Regions from separate parts of the Homo sapiens genome. Here region 1 is linked to region 2. The links are contacts of gene promoters, found by promoter capture Hi-C in blood cells and fetal thymus (Javierre and others, 2016). All regions are on one chromosome and are shown on one strand. The core of a region is centred on a gene start or on the middle of the fragment in contact, and the rest is flanking DNA. Distances in the headings are between cores, read along the strand shown. Region 1 overlaps ERVK3-1 (endogenous retrovirus group K3 member 1). Region 2 holds the start of ZNF776 (zinc finger protein 776).

Region 1 (6,608 bases), core at 459-2,958, 560 kb after region 2:
GGGTCTCAATAAAATCTTTTCCGCATATCATGCAAAAATCACAGGAGCCCTTTGCACAATTTATTGCACAGTTACAACAGTCAGTGAGGCATCAGATTCCTCATACTGCTCCTGCGAAAATGCTTACTTTGACCCTAGCTTTTGAAAATGCAAATGCAGATTGTAAATGTGCATTAGCACCCGTGAGATGTACAAACAGCTTGGGAAATTTTCTCAAAGCCTGTCAGGATGTGGGAACTGAACTCCATCGTTCAACTGTGTTAGCTCAAGTAATAGCTAATTTAGTAGTGAACAAATCTGAAAAGGGCCAAGGGTTGAGCCCTAAAGTGGGAAAATGTTATAATTGTGGAAAAATTGGACATTTCAAAAAAGAATACCATCAGACCTCTGGGCAGAAGGGATCTTACAATGCAATACCGCCCCCCCCTCCCCGCCCCGCTCCCCCCAACACACACACACAGAAAAAAAAACACCAGGACTTTGCCCTCGCCGTAATAAAGGAAATCATTGGGCTAATCAGTGTTGCTCAAAATTTCATCAGAATGGCACCCCGCTCTCAGGAAATGAGAATGGGGCCTGGGCCCCTCAAACAATGAGGGCATTCCCCATCCAGGCCACAACCCTGCTACAGGGGTGGGTTCCTGGAGGAACATTGACTCCCTCTCCTCTGGAACACCGGGGAGTGCAGGATTAGATCGCTCAGTCAGAGAATGGGTCACGTTAGTTGGAGGAGACAAACCCACCAGAATTCCCACAGGCATTTGGGAACCTTTGCCAACAGGATATACAGGATTAATTTTAGGCCAAAGCCATCTGAACTTACAGGGCATTACTGTGATCCCTGGATTGTTGACTCTGATTATGAAGGAGAAATTCAAGTAATTGTAATGTCACAAGATCTTTGGGTTTTTAAACCTGGGAAATATATTGCTCAGCTATTGCTTATTATTATTCTCTGCAAATTACACCCTTCTTCACGAAAGGAGAAAAGAGGAAATCAAGAATTTGGGAGTACAACTACACAGGAAATTTACCTATCCCAACCCATAGCTTCTAATTGACCCACCTGTGCAGTGCAAATTAAAGGAAAGAAGTGTTGTGGGTGTATGGACACAGGAGCAGATGTTTCAGTAATATCCAAAAACAATTGGCCCCTGCTACTAACCTCTGCATCCTTAGTGGGAGTAGGAACAGCTCAAAGTGTTTAACAGAGTGCTGAAATTTTACTTTGTGTCAGTCCAGATGGACAGCCATGTACTTTTCAACCTTATGTTGCAAATATACGTGTTAATCTCTGGGGCTGAGATTTACTTACAGCATGGGATGTGAGACTTACAAATGAAAAGGTTGATAATCCAGGATTTAAAATATTGAAGGAAATGGGATATCAGAGTGGGAAAGGCTTGGGAAAGTTCCTACAGGGAAACCCCGGTCCGGTATCGGTAACTGGGCAAACAGATAGGAAAGGGCTAGGTCATCAGGATTTCTGATAGGGGTCATTGATACTTCTTCTCCACCCACTGCCTTGCTGCTAGAGTGGCTGACTGATAAACCTGTGTGGGTGGATCAATGGCCCCTATCACAGGAGAAAACTGACTCAACTCCATCAGCTGGTAAGAAAGCAATTGGATGCAGGACATATAAAAGTATCAGTTAGTGCTTGGAATTCACCAGTATTTGTGACCCCCAAAACGTCAGGAAAATGGCAACTGCTGCATAATTTGAGAGCTGTTAATGCACAAATTAAACCAGTGGGTGCATTACAGCAAGGTCTGCCATCCCCGGCAACCATTCCAAGAGATTAGCCTCTTGTAGTAATAGATCTTAAAGACTGTTTTTTCACTATACCATTACACAAGAAGGACAAGCCTCAATTCGCCTTCTCTGTGCCTTCTATTAATCAGAGAGAGCCTGTCTCTTGTGATCAATGAAAAGTTTTATTACCCCAGGCATGCTCAACAGTCCTACGTTATGTCAGCATTTTGTAGGAAAAGCATTGAAGGAGCCTCGGAATATGTTTTCCACCACCTACATCATTCATTATATGGATAATATTGTTTTGGCCACTCCTACAGATCAAGTATTATACCAGTTATTCAGAGAAATAAAATGGGCTTTAACTAAATGGAATCTCAAAATAGCTCCTGAAAAGGTACAAACAACCTCCTCATACCAATACTTAGATACTACTGTTACTGAAAAAAGTATTCAGCCTCAGAAAGTAGCTCTTCGTAAGAACAAATTACAAACTCTGAATAACTTAGGGGATATTAATTGGCTGCGCCCAATGCTAGGTATTGCTTCTTATCAACTCACTCATGTTTATCAAACCCTCCAAGGAGATTCTTCATTAGATTCCCCTCGGCAACTTACTAAGGAGGCAGAAGCTGAATTACAGCTTGTAGAAAGATGCTTCAGCAACGACATGCCTCCTGGCTACAACCACAAAAGTCTTTGGTTTTGTTTATTCTTCCTACCCCCCATTCTCCATCAGGACTTTTAGCTCAATTCATAGACAAAACTATAATGGTAATAGAATGGCTTTTTTTATCCAGTCAAACAGTAAAATCTTTGCAAGTTTATCTTGCTTTAGTCACACAACTTATAACAATAGGCAGGCATAGATCAAAAATGCTTACAGGATATGATCCTGATAAAATTATTGTTACCTTGGATTCCCAACAACAGGCTGCGGCCTGGGAGATGTCCACTGCATGGCAAATCACTTTCGCAGATTTTGTAGAAATAATAGATAACCATTATCCATCAGACAAAATTTTGCAGTTTTATAAAATTCACCCTTTTATTCCCCCTGTGATTGCTCATCACAAACCCATTTCAGGTGGACAGACCTATTTTACCGATGGCTCTTCCAAAAGCCACACAGCCATTTATGGACCTAAATATACTTAAATAATAAAGACCCCTAGAGTTTCAGCTCAACACTCTGAATTAATGGCAGTTATTCAAGTTTTAAAGCTCACAGCTTTATTTCCTATTAATATTGTCTGTAATTCAGCCTATGTCGTAAATGTAGCTAGTTGCATTAAAACTGCCACTATCAAGAGTGTACGGACCAGCCCCACAGGGTCGGTGGGTCTCTCCCTGTGTGCGGCGACGAGAGAGTGTAGAAATAAAGACACAAGACAAAGAGATAAAAGGCAGCTGGGCCTGGGGGACCACTACCACCAATGCGCGGAGACCGGTAGTGGCCCCGAATGTCTGGCTGCGCTCTTATTTATTGGATACAAAGCAAAAGGGGCAGGGTAAAGAGTGTGAGTCATCTCCAATGATAGGTAAGGTCACGTGGGTCATGTGTCCACTGGTCAGGGGGCCCTTCCCTGCCTGGCAGCCGAGGCAGAGAGGGAGAGGAGACAGAGAGAAAGACAGCTTACGCCATTATTTCTGCATATCAGGGACTATTAGTACTTTCACTAATTTACTACTGCTATCTAGAAGGCAGAGCCAGGTGTACAGGATGGAACATGAAGGCGGACTAGGAGCGTGACCACTGAAGCACAGAATCACAGGGAGACGGTTAGGCCTCCGGATAACTGTGGGCGAGCCTGACTAATGTCAGGCCCTCCACAAGAGGTGGAGGAGCAGAGTCTTCTCTAACCTCCCCCAGGGAAAGGGAGACCGCCCCCCACCCTTTCCCGGTCTGCTAAGTAGCGGGTGTTGTTCCTTGACACTTTTCGCTACCGCTAGACCACGGTCTTCCCAAACGCTGGCGTCACCACTAGACCAAGGAGCCCTCTGGTGGCCCTGTCTGGGCATAACAGAAGGCTCGCACTCTTGTCTTCTGGTCACACCTCACTATGTCCCCTCAGCTCCTATCTCTGTATGGCCTGGTTTTTCCTAGGCTATGATTATAGAGCAAGGATTATTGTAATATTGGAATAAAAAGTAATTGCTACAAACTAATGATTAATGATATTCATATATAATCATATCTAAGATCTATATCTGGTATAACTATTCTTGTTTTATATTTTATTATACTGGAACAGCCCGTGTCCTCTGTCTCTTGCTTCGGCGCCTGGATGGCTTGCCGCCCACACAAGAGCACCTTAAAACCAGAACTGCTTAACCTATTTCTGAGACTCCAAAAAGCTGTTCGCTCTCATGCTGCCCCTTTTCATATTTCTCATATCCGATCTCACACACAACTTCCTGGGGCCACTATCTCTAGGTAATGATAGAGCAGATAAATTCATCAGTTCTATATTTCAACAAGCCCAAGCTTCCCATGCTTTACTGCATCAGAACAACTTGCCCTTACTCGTATGTTTCATCTGCCTCGCAGCCAGGCTTGAGTTATTGTGCAAGCCTGCCCCACTTGCCAGCATGTCCCTGGTGTTGCACCTGTGGAAGGATGCAACCCACGAGGCTTGGCTCCAAATGAAATCTGGCAGATGGATGTTACATATATATAGCAGCCTTTGGCTAACTCCGCTATGTTCATGTAATATAGACACTTACTCCCATATGTTACATGCCACATGCCAAACTGGGGAAACAGCTGGTCATGTCTGACGATACTGTCTGTCGTCATTTGCCCATATGGGGGTCCCTAAACAATTTAAAACTGACAGTGGACTCGCTTATGTTAGTCATGCTTTCCCAATTTTTTACAATTGTGGGCAATCAATCATAAAACAGGAATTCCATACAATCCCTGAGGGCCAGGCATTATTGAGCGGGTACATCAAACACTACAACGCATGCTGAAAAAACAAAAAGGGAGAATAGGGGACCAATTACCACTTCAAACAAAATTACATTTAGCCTTGTTTACTTTAAATTGTTTGACTCCTGGTACGGATGGCAAGACCCCAGCAGAACGACACTGGCAACTGCTAGAGGAAAAGAGGCAAGTTTATCCAAAAGTGTTATGGAAATCCCCAGAAGAAGGACAATGGAAAGGTCCGGTGGATTTGCTGACGTGGGGACGAGGGTATGCTTGTGTTTTTACAGGAGATGGACAAACCGTGTGGGTGCCCTCCAGGTGTGTGTGACCATGGAACGGGAGACCGGAGGGATCCATGGTATTCAACCGTGGGCCTGTTACCTCCAGTACGAGCCATGAGCCAGCGGAATCTGAATGCAAAGACAGAACAAGGGCCGACCGGAGTCACAATGACATCCAACCCCATAACATGGGGACAGATCAAGAAAACGACACAAGAAGCTGAGAAACTACTGGAGCGCCAGGGTCAGGCAAAAACCCCTGACTCCATGTTCTTGGCCATGCTAGCTGTAGTGTCCTGTGCGGTATGTTTCCCCTGTGTAGAGGCAAAAACATATTGGGCATATGTTCCTAACCCACTGGTAGTACGACTGGTACTCTGGAGCGACACTCCTCCTGAGATATATTATGATCAGGGAGCGTGGGCACCAGGACCCCTAACTCCGTCTGACACAGAGCAATAGCATCAATTACACCGGCCCATTGGAAGGACTCCCTTTATGTATCACCATGGATACGTCACTCAACTGCAGCTGTCTTGCAGTCCAATCTCAGGCATGGTTAAGTCACCATGGAAAAATTATGTATTTATTAGGCCTCAGCTTTATTAATGTTACTGGCGTGTTCACCAATCACTCCTAGCCCCATCACTCAAATTGTATGGATTATATGGAATGGGCTCCCTTTGATATTTCTCACCCCCCTCCTTGGACCCAGTGTCTTGGCCCCTTGGCCAGACAACAGTCTATGTTAATGGGAAACATTGACTGGGGTCCCCGTGGCCATTTAGAGGGGAGAGATGAAAATCAGACCTCTTGGCACAAACTTCACTGGCACTGGTGGTGGACCTTCAACACCTCTTCATCACATCACACTGGGATTCAGTCCCCCAGTTGGCTGCACAACTTGCTTGGTATAGGACAGGCTTTAACCCGCCCTTACCTCAGTGACGTCATCTAGGAAACAGAGGCCCAATTCAGGAATCGATATGGAAGGCAACACTCCCATTTATGAATAACAGCATCTGGGTCAGAACATTATCCAACAATAGTAATATTACTCAACACAGTTTTAATATCACCTTTGTAAAAAATATTACCACTCAATTTACGGTTTGTGGGTTTTTTGTTGTTGTTGTTAACTGTTTGAGATGGAGTCTCACTCTGTCGCCCAGGCTGGAGTGCAGTGGCGCAATCTCGGGTCACTGCAACCTTTGCCTCCCGGGTTCAAGCAATTGTCTGCCTCAGCCTCCCGAGTAGCTGGGATTACAGGCACCCGCCACCGTGCCAGGCTATTTTTTGTTTTTTGTATTTTTAATAGAAACGGGATTTCACCTTCTTGGCCAGGCTGCTCTTGAATTCCTGACCTCGTGATCCACCCGCCTTGGCTTCCCAAAGTGCTGGGATTACAGGCGTGAGCCACCATGCCCGGCCAGTTTGTGTTTTTAATCCCTATGTTTTTCTAGCATCTAAGAAGGACCAACTCCACGTAAACATCACCCAGTTGACTTGTGACTCTTGTCAACTGTATCACTGCCTCAATCATAGCACAATACAAACACACAACATATCCACTCTAATAATTCTGGGTCGTATCCCTGGATTATGGATCCCTGTCAATTTGTGCAAACCTTGGGCTG
Region 2 (6,171 bases), core at 1,320-3,819:
CACACAAGAGTTTATTCCTGAAGGAACAGCCAGCCTGGGTGGGTGTATAAAAGCTACTCTGAAGTCTGTCTACTCGGAAAAGCGGGACTGTCTGACTCCCCCTATAAATGCCAAGTGGGGCTCCCCAGATGAACCAGCTTAATATGCTTCCCATGCAAGCCATGTGGAACTGGCATTATGATGATAGGAATATTTACCTACTGAATATGTTTATTACCCAGGTCATGGTAAATGTCTTGGTTTGGGGAACCCCATTTTCTTGGGCACCTTATGTAAACTTACTGCTGCAAAATTGAGCTATAGTCAGTCTTACCAAATTTGCTTCCTATTATGGGCCTTTCAGATGCTAATAAAACCATTAGATTAATTAATAAGATAGACAATGATGAAAGGTACAGGGGAGAGTCAAACAGCTCCTTCCAGGAAGGTAGAAATTTTTAAATAGTTATAAAGAAATAAGACAAATAAAGAAAACATGGATAGGAATGAAACTAAGAGGAAAAAGAAAAGGGGGAAATCATGATACTCATCCCAGCATGGTGGAAATCTTTAGATGGCTATTAGATGGAAATTAGATGAATAAAATAAAAACTGATCGGATTAAAACAAAATTCTGAATATAACACTATTGAAGGTTGGGTGGACCAAAGGAAGTTCCTGTTGATCCCCCAACATTAAAGGGCCTTAAGCTAAGTTGCTGTAGTTCCTGAAGTTTGGATAAATTTTAAAAGCCAGAAGGTAAAGATATAATGAGAAACCCCACCTGGAATGCCTAGGGTGATGGTTAGACTGGTTAATCAAGGTAGCACTTGGAAAAAAGGCCAAAGTCTCCTGGCCTGAACCCTGGGTGGAAACCTGAAGACATCTGCACAAGAAAGGGTAAAATGGTCTGGAGAGAAGAGTCCTGGGACTACAACATAAAGTAAAAGTTGACAGGACTATGAAAGTTGGAATGTTAAACATGCTTTTTTTTTTTTAAGTTGTACTACCAATAAACTGAGTTCTTTCCCTACTTTGTATTGGTCACAAAAAAAAGAACACCCAATTTGGGAAAAAAAAAAAAAAAGGCAAGCAAGTTTTATTTCTGAGCAGAAATGGAGAATGAGTAAGCTCTTGCTCTAAATGCCTCTTCTCCCTGAACATAGAAGACATAGGTTTTTTAAGAACTGAGCGGCTGGGTACAGTGGCTCATGCCTTTAATCCCAGCACTTTGGGAGGCCGAGACAGGTGGATCACCTGAGGTTGAGAGTTCGAGACCAGCCTGACCAACATGGAGAAACCCCGTCTCTACTAAAAATACAAAATTAGCCAGGTATGGTGGCTCATGCCTGTAATCCCATCCATAACATTAATTTATTAGGCAAAACACTCCTTGCCATGGAAACAGAAATAAAGAATAGTCACAAAAAAAAAAAAAGAAAAGAAATAAATAAAGTCTGTTTTATCTAATACAAAAAAAAAAAAATAGCCACTTCCCAGCAATAACATGAACTCCTGGATTTAAGACACAACCAATATCAACAGGTGGAGAGCATCTTCTGCATACGTGCCCCACCTTTGAAAACTGCAGCCATTTATCACTACCAAAATAGCATTTCTTTCATTGGTCTTCCTGTAAGATTGATAAATCTTAGATAAATTAATCCAGAATTAATTGAATATAAGTTGGAATCTCAAGCGAGGGATACTAAGTGGATAAAAGTGTTGCTCAATGTACTGGACACTATGATTGATTTTATAGGCAGGAGAGTTGTCTTCTGTGGGAATCACAGACAGAGATTCAGCATGTATTCCTGCTTTAGGGAACACAACATTTCTCCTCTATCTTCCTTGTCTTGTCCTATCTGGATTAGTTCTCTCTTGTCCCTGACAGACTGAGAAACTGACTCTAATGCCTCAGAGTGCATTCATGTGAATTTATAACACAATAATGTTTATCAGCCTCTGCTGCCAGTACCGGGATTTTGCGACTGAAAGACTGTTCAAAACGTTATGATAATTTGGATTTTTAGTCTTTGGGGGCATCCTAAATAATAAGTTTAGCATCGGAGAGCTCGAGTTCCCCAAAATCTAAAATAATATTTTTTCAAATACTTGAGTGATCAGTTACAGACACTAATCTCCAAAAATCTCAATACGGGTTCTAAGGCTAGGTGAGACTATCCTCTACCCTAGAAGGACATGCACTTTAAGGACAGGCCGCTGAGATGGAGCTGGGCCTTTCCTGCAAGTAAGTGAACGTGATGGTAGGGTATACCTGACAGCATAGTTTGACAGGGGATATAGACTTTCAAGGAGAAAATAGACATGAAATAGATACATGCAGAAGTATAGTCAAATTGAGGGAAGATGACACTTAGGCCAGAGTAGTGTTTATTCACCACTCTGTGCAATCAAGCGCCTCTGAGAAGGCCTTCTTTACCGCCTTGGAACTGTCTTGGAACCTGAGGAAACTACATAACCCAGAAATCTCTGCGTCGAATGACAGCGCGTCAGAGCCAATGAGGGCTCAAAATAAAGGCGTTTCCGCGGAAACAGTATAAAGGTGGGACTTCCGGCGTCCTCTACTAGTGGCCATTTTGATTGGTGTTGGGTGTATTTTCCAGTGAGAGACCGCGGAGTGTTGGGTCGTGTAGAAGTGACTGAACCCAGAAGGTGGAGACGAGACGTTGTCCCGACTGCACAGAGGCTGCTCTGCAGCTCCTTAAAGGCGCTAGGCGTGACCCGCACCAAGGCCGGGATCGGGACCACCGTGCCCGGGTACCTGCACTGCTCGCCCCCTCCTTTCGACCCCGCTTTCCCCACCCAGTCGGATGGCGGCGGCCGCGCTGAGGCCCCCGGCTCAGGTAATTGTGGCGTCTTCCGTGCCCTCAGGTCACCTCATCTTTACCTAAGTCCAAAAGCAGAGAGGAAGCGGCGCCTGCTCAAGGTTTTACACCCTGAACCCGGCGTCGGGACACTGAGGCGCTCTCTATGGGCCCCCGTTTTTGACACCCGCGGGATGCGCTCAGGAGAGCTACAGGCACAGGGAGCGGTGCAGGCAAAGGCCTGGAGATGAACTGAGCCGAGAGGATCGTAACCTAGGGTCCACAGGCACCTGTCGGGAGCAAAGTGTGAGGCAGAGCTCCTCCTGGAAGAGCAGGCTGAGGACCGTGTATTCACCCTGAGAACGCTGGAAGCCATGGACAGCTTCCAACAAAGGAAGGAAAAGATCAATGTCCAGGCTTTAAAGGTTTCCCAAAGTCCAGTCGAAAAAGAACACAGGGGATGACTTTTGGGCCCTGGGAGGTTGAATTCTTGTTCAACCTCTACAGATCAGATAGGTGCTAAGAGATGACATTTTGTACTGAGGCGCTCAGTTCAGACAACCAACTCGCGTTTACCTAGTTACAGGGCCAAGAAAGAGTTCAGGGAGGCCTGAGCTTATCAAATCTCATCAGGGATACATTCTTGTAGCTTGTGCCTCTCCTCTCAGGAACTCCTGGCTGCAGAAGCACTTGCAGAACCTCCGCAGGGAAGCGGAGGGTGTTATTCCCTCACTGGCCCTAACTCCTATCCACATGCTCTTTAGATTGGGATGTCCTGGGATTCTTAGGTACCTTTTTTTTTTTTTTTTTAAGTTTTTTGATATGGGAACCCTGGAGGAACCTTAAACCCAGGATCCAAAGTCTGTGACACAGGATATATGGAGGTATTCCCATTTCTGTCAACCAGTATAAACATACTTGGAAGGTTAACCCAGGAGTTAGTACCAGGATGTGAAATGCTTAGAGGTGAAACTGACCAGAGGGAGGAGGTGATGTTGCCACAGTTTCATCTGGCTGTAGTCTCCTCTGGCTGTACAGTGGAGAACAGACTGTGGGGTTGAGAGAGGAGGAAATAAGATGAGAGTTGAGGCTTTTGCCGTAATCCAAGTGAGGGTTAACAGACTAAGATTCATGGCTAAGGAGATGTGGCTGGATTCAAAGTTGATATTTTGTTACAGCATCTAGGTTTCCTAATACACAAAGTAAGGGCATGAAGAGAGCAATCAGGATCCCGAGGTTTTTGGTCTTAGTAGCTGTAGCTATGGAAGCTGCATCAGCTGAGATGAGCATGTTGGTAATAAACATAATTAGAATATTATGCAAATATCAGGATGACTGTTATGGCCATATGAAGAGTCAGAGACGAATAAGTGTAGGCATCAAATGGCTATGGACATGCAGGTTGGGGTATCTGGAAAGGGATTGACACTGGAGACATCTAATATATGGTAGCTAATGTGTATGCTATGGTGAGTGAGCCATGGGTCACATTAAGGAGAACACACTTCAGATTCTGGTGGTAAATCTTTTAGGGGACCAGAAAGCAGTGGTTGAATGATGAGGACTGCATCTGTTGCTTGGGTCCCTGGGTAATGTTACTGGGCTTCCTAAACACTGGAGAGGTAGGTAAGTGACCATGATGGTAGGGTATACCTGTCAGCATAATTTGACAGGGGACATAGACTTTCAAGGAGAGAATAGACATGAAATAGATATATGCAGAAGTGTAGTCAAATTGAGGGAAGATGACACTTAGGCCAGAGTGGTACTTATTCACCACTCTGTGCAATCAAGATTTGAGATGACTTTGGTAGTGTGTGGGGGGTTTCATTACACGTGCTGAATATGCTCAGGGAGAAATATGGTCATCTGTGACAGTAGGTCTTGGGCCTTAAATGGATTAAAAACAGGACTTTTTTTTTTTTTGAGACGGTGTCTCACTCTGTCGCCCAGGCTGGTGTACTGGTGTATAGTGGCGCAATCTTGGCTCATTACAACCTCCACCTCCCAGGTTCAAGTGATTCTCCTGCCTCAGCCTCCCGGTAGCTGAGAATACAGTTGCGTGCCACCACGCCCCACTAATTTTTTTTTGTATTTTTAGTAGAGATGTGATTTCACCATATTGGCCAGGCTGGTCTCGAACTCCTGACCTCATGATCCACCTGCCTCAGCCTCCCAAAGTGCTAGGATTACAGGTGTGAACCACCATGCCCATCCAGGACTGCTCTTTAAATGGCAATGGTATTAGGTGAATGGAAGTTGGTCCGTGTTGCTGAAGGGTAAGCCATTGTAGCACAGAAGTGGAATAAGACCATGGATATCTGAAGTTACATGTGGTTTTGCATGGATGTGGAGTAATGCAAGGAGGCATTCATAGAATTATTAGGGACTACCACTGCTAATGGGAACCATGGTCATTTTGTGTTATTATTGGATCCTGTTTGAATATGTGAAGCATATTGGATGCTGTCAGCCATATTGTGGTATAAAGCCAAAAATGGAGGCCCAATATGATGTGTCACCTTGACATCTAGTGATATTGGTATGACCTCAAATGACCTGAGAACCAATTCCCTTCCCACTAGGCTCTTTTAGATAATAATCAGCATGGCCTAATAATCCTTTTATTAGGGAGACCAGGCAGAATTCCTGGTTATTATACTTTGTAGTGAGTTTCAATTTTATCCTTACCCACAGTGTTATTCAAACAAGCCAGTTGCATCCTCCTAAGGGATTCGGGGGTCATCACACCCTCTTCATTTTAAAAGCTTGCATATCATAGTTTCTGGTTATGCACTCTTATCCATAGTGCAACCCCTATGTGGTCCTTCATGATGAGGGATGTCCTCTTCTAGACTTTGAGTGTATTTGATTTTTAAACATATTTATAGCACCTGTCTAGTGTTTGATGTCATGTGTTTGGTCATTAATATAACTGTAAGGTGAAAATCTCACCCTTACTGGTAGAAGGAAGAAGAGGGTATAAACATACTTTAACTTGTGGGGAGGCAGAGGCCAATGTGGGAGGCAGTTTAGTGGGGGTGGCCATGGGCATGTGTCTGTGCAGTCTAAAGAATGATGTGTATTTTGGCCTAGCACAGTGGCTCATGCCTGTAATCCCAGCACATTGGGAGGCTGAGGTGGGTGAATCACTTGAGCTCAGGATTTCGAGACTAACCTGGGCAACATAGTGAAACCTTCTCTCTACCAAAAATACAAAAAAAAAAAAAAATTAGCCGGCACGGTGGCATGCACCTGTATCCCATCTACTCGGGAGGCTAAGGCCAGAGAATTACTCGAGCCCAGTAGACAGAGGTTGCAGAGAGCTGAGATTATGTCATTGCACTCCAGCCTGGGCAACAGG

The links. The method cuts DNA at HindIII sites, captures the fragments that hold promoters and counts their contacts. A CHiCAGO score of 5 or more calls a contact.
Region 1: a fragment that was not itself captured here is called in contact with the fragment with the promoter of ZNF776 in region 2 in 1 of 17 cell types (neutrophils); the score reaches 6.0 in neutrophils.

Annotation. Positions count from the first base shown.
Region 1 is chr19:58,307,189-58,313,796 of GRCh38, forward strand. ERVK3-1 (endogenous retrovirus group K3 member 1) reads left to right here. Exons shown (of 4, transcript NM_001396080.1): 3 at 4,978-5,274. The coding sequence starts at 4,981. ZNF8-ERVK3-1 (ZNF8-ERVK3-1 readthrough (NMD candidate)) reads left to right here. Exons shown (of 7, transcript NR_144447.1): 6 at 4,978-5,274. Among named protein-coding and RNA genes, the nearest start is that of ERVK3-1, 5.1 kb to the left of the region's middle. RefSeq lists a silencer at 3,515-3,809. The HindIII fragment of the contact is 5,065 bases long and covers 1-4,241 here.
Region 2 is chr19:57,744,246-57,750,416 of GRCh38, forward strand. It overlaps ZNF776 (zinc finger protein 776), which reads left to right and starts at 2,570. Exons shown (of 3, transcript NM_173632.4): 1 at 2,570-2,846. The coding sequence starts at 2,814. RefSeq lists an enhancer at 2,582-2,631. The HindIII fragment of the contact is 9,325 bases long and covers 1-5,573 here.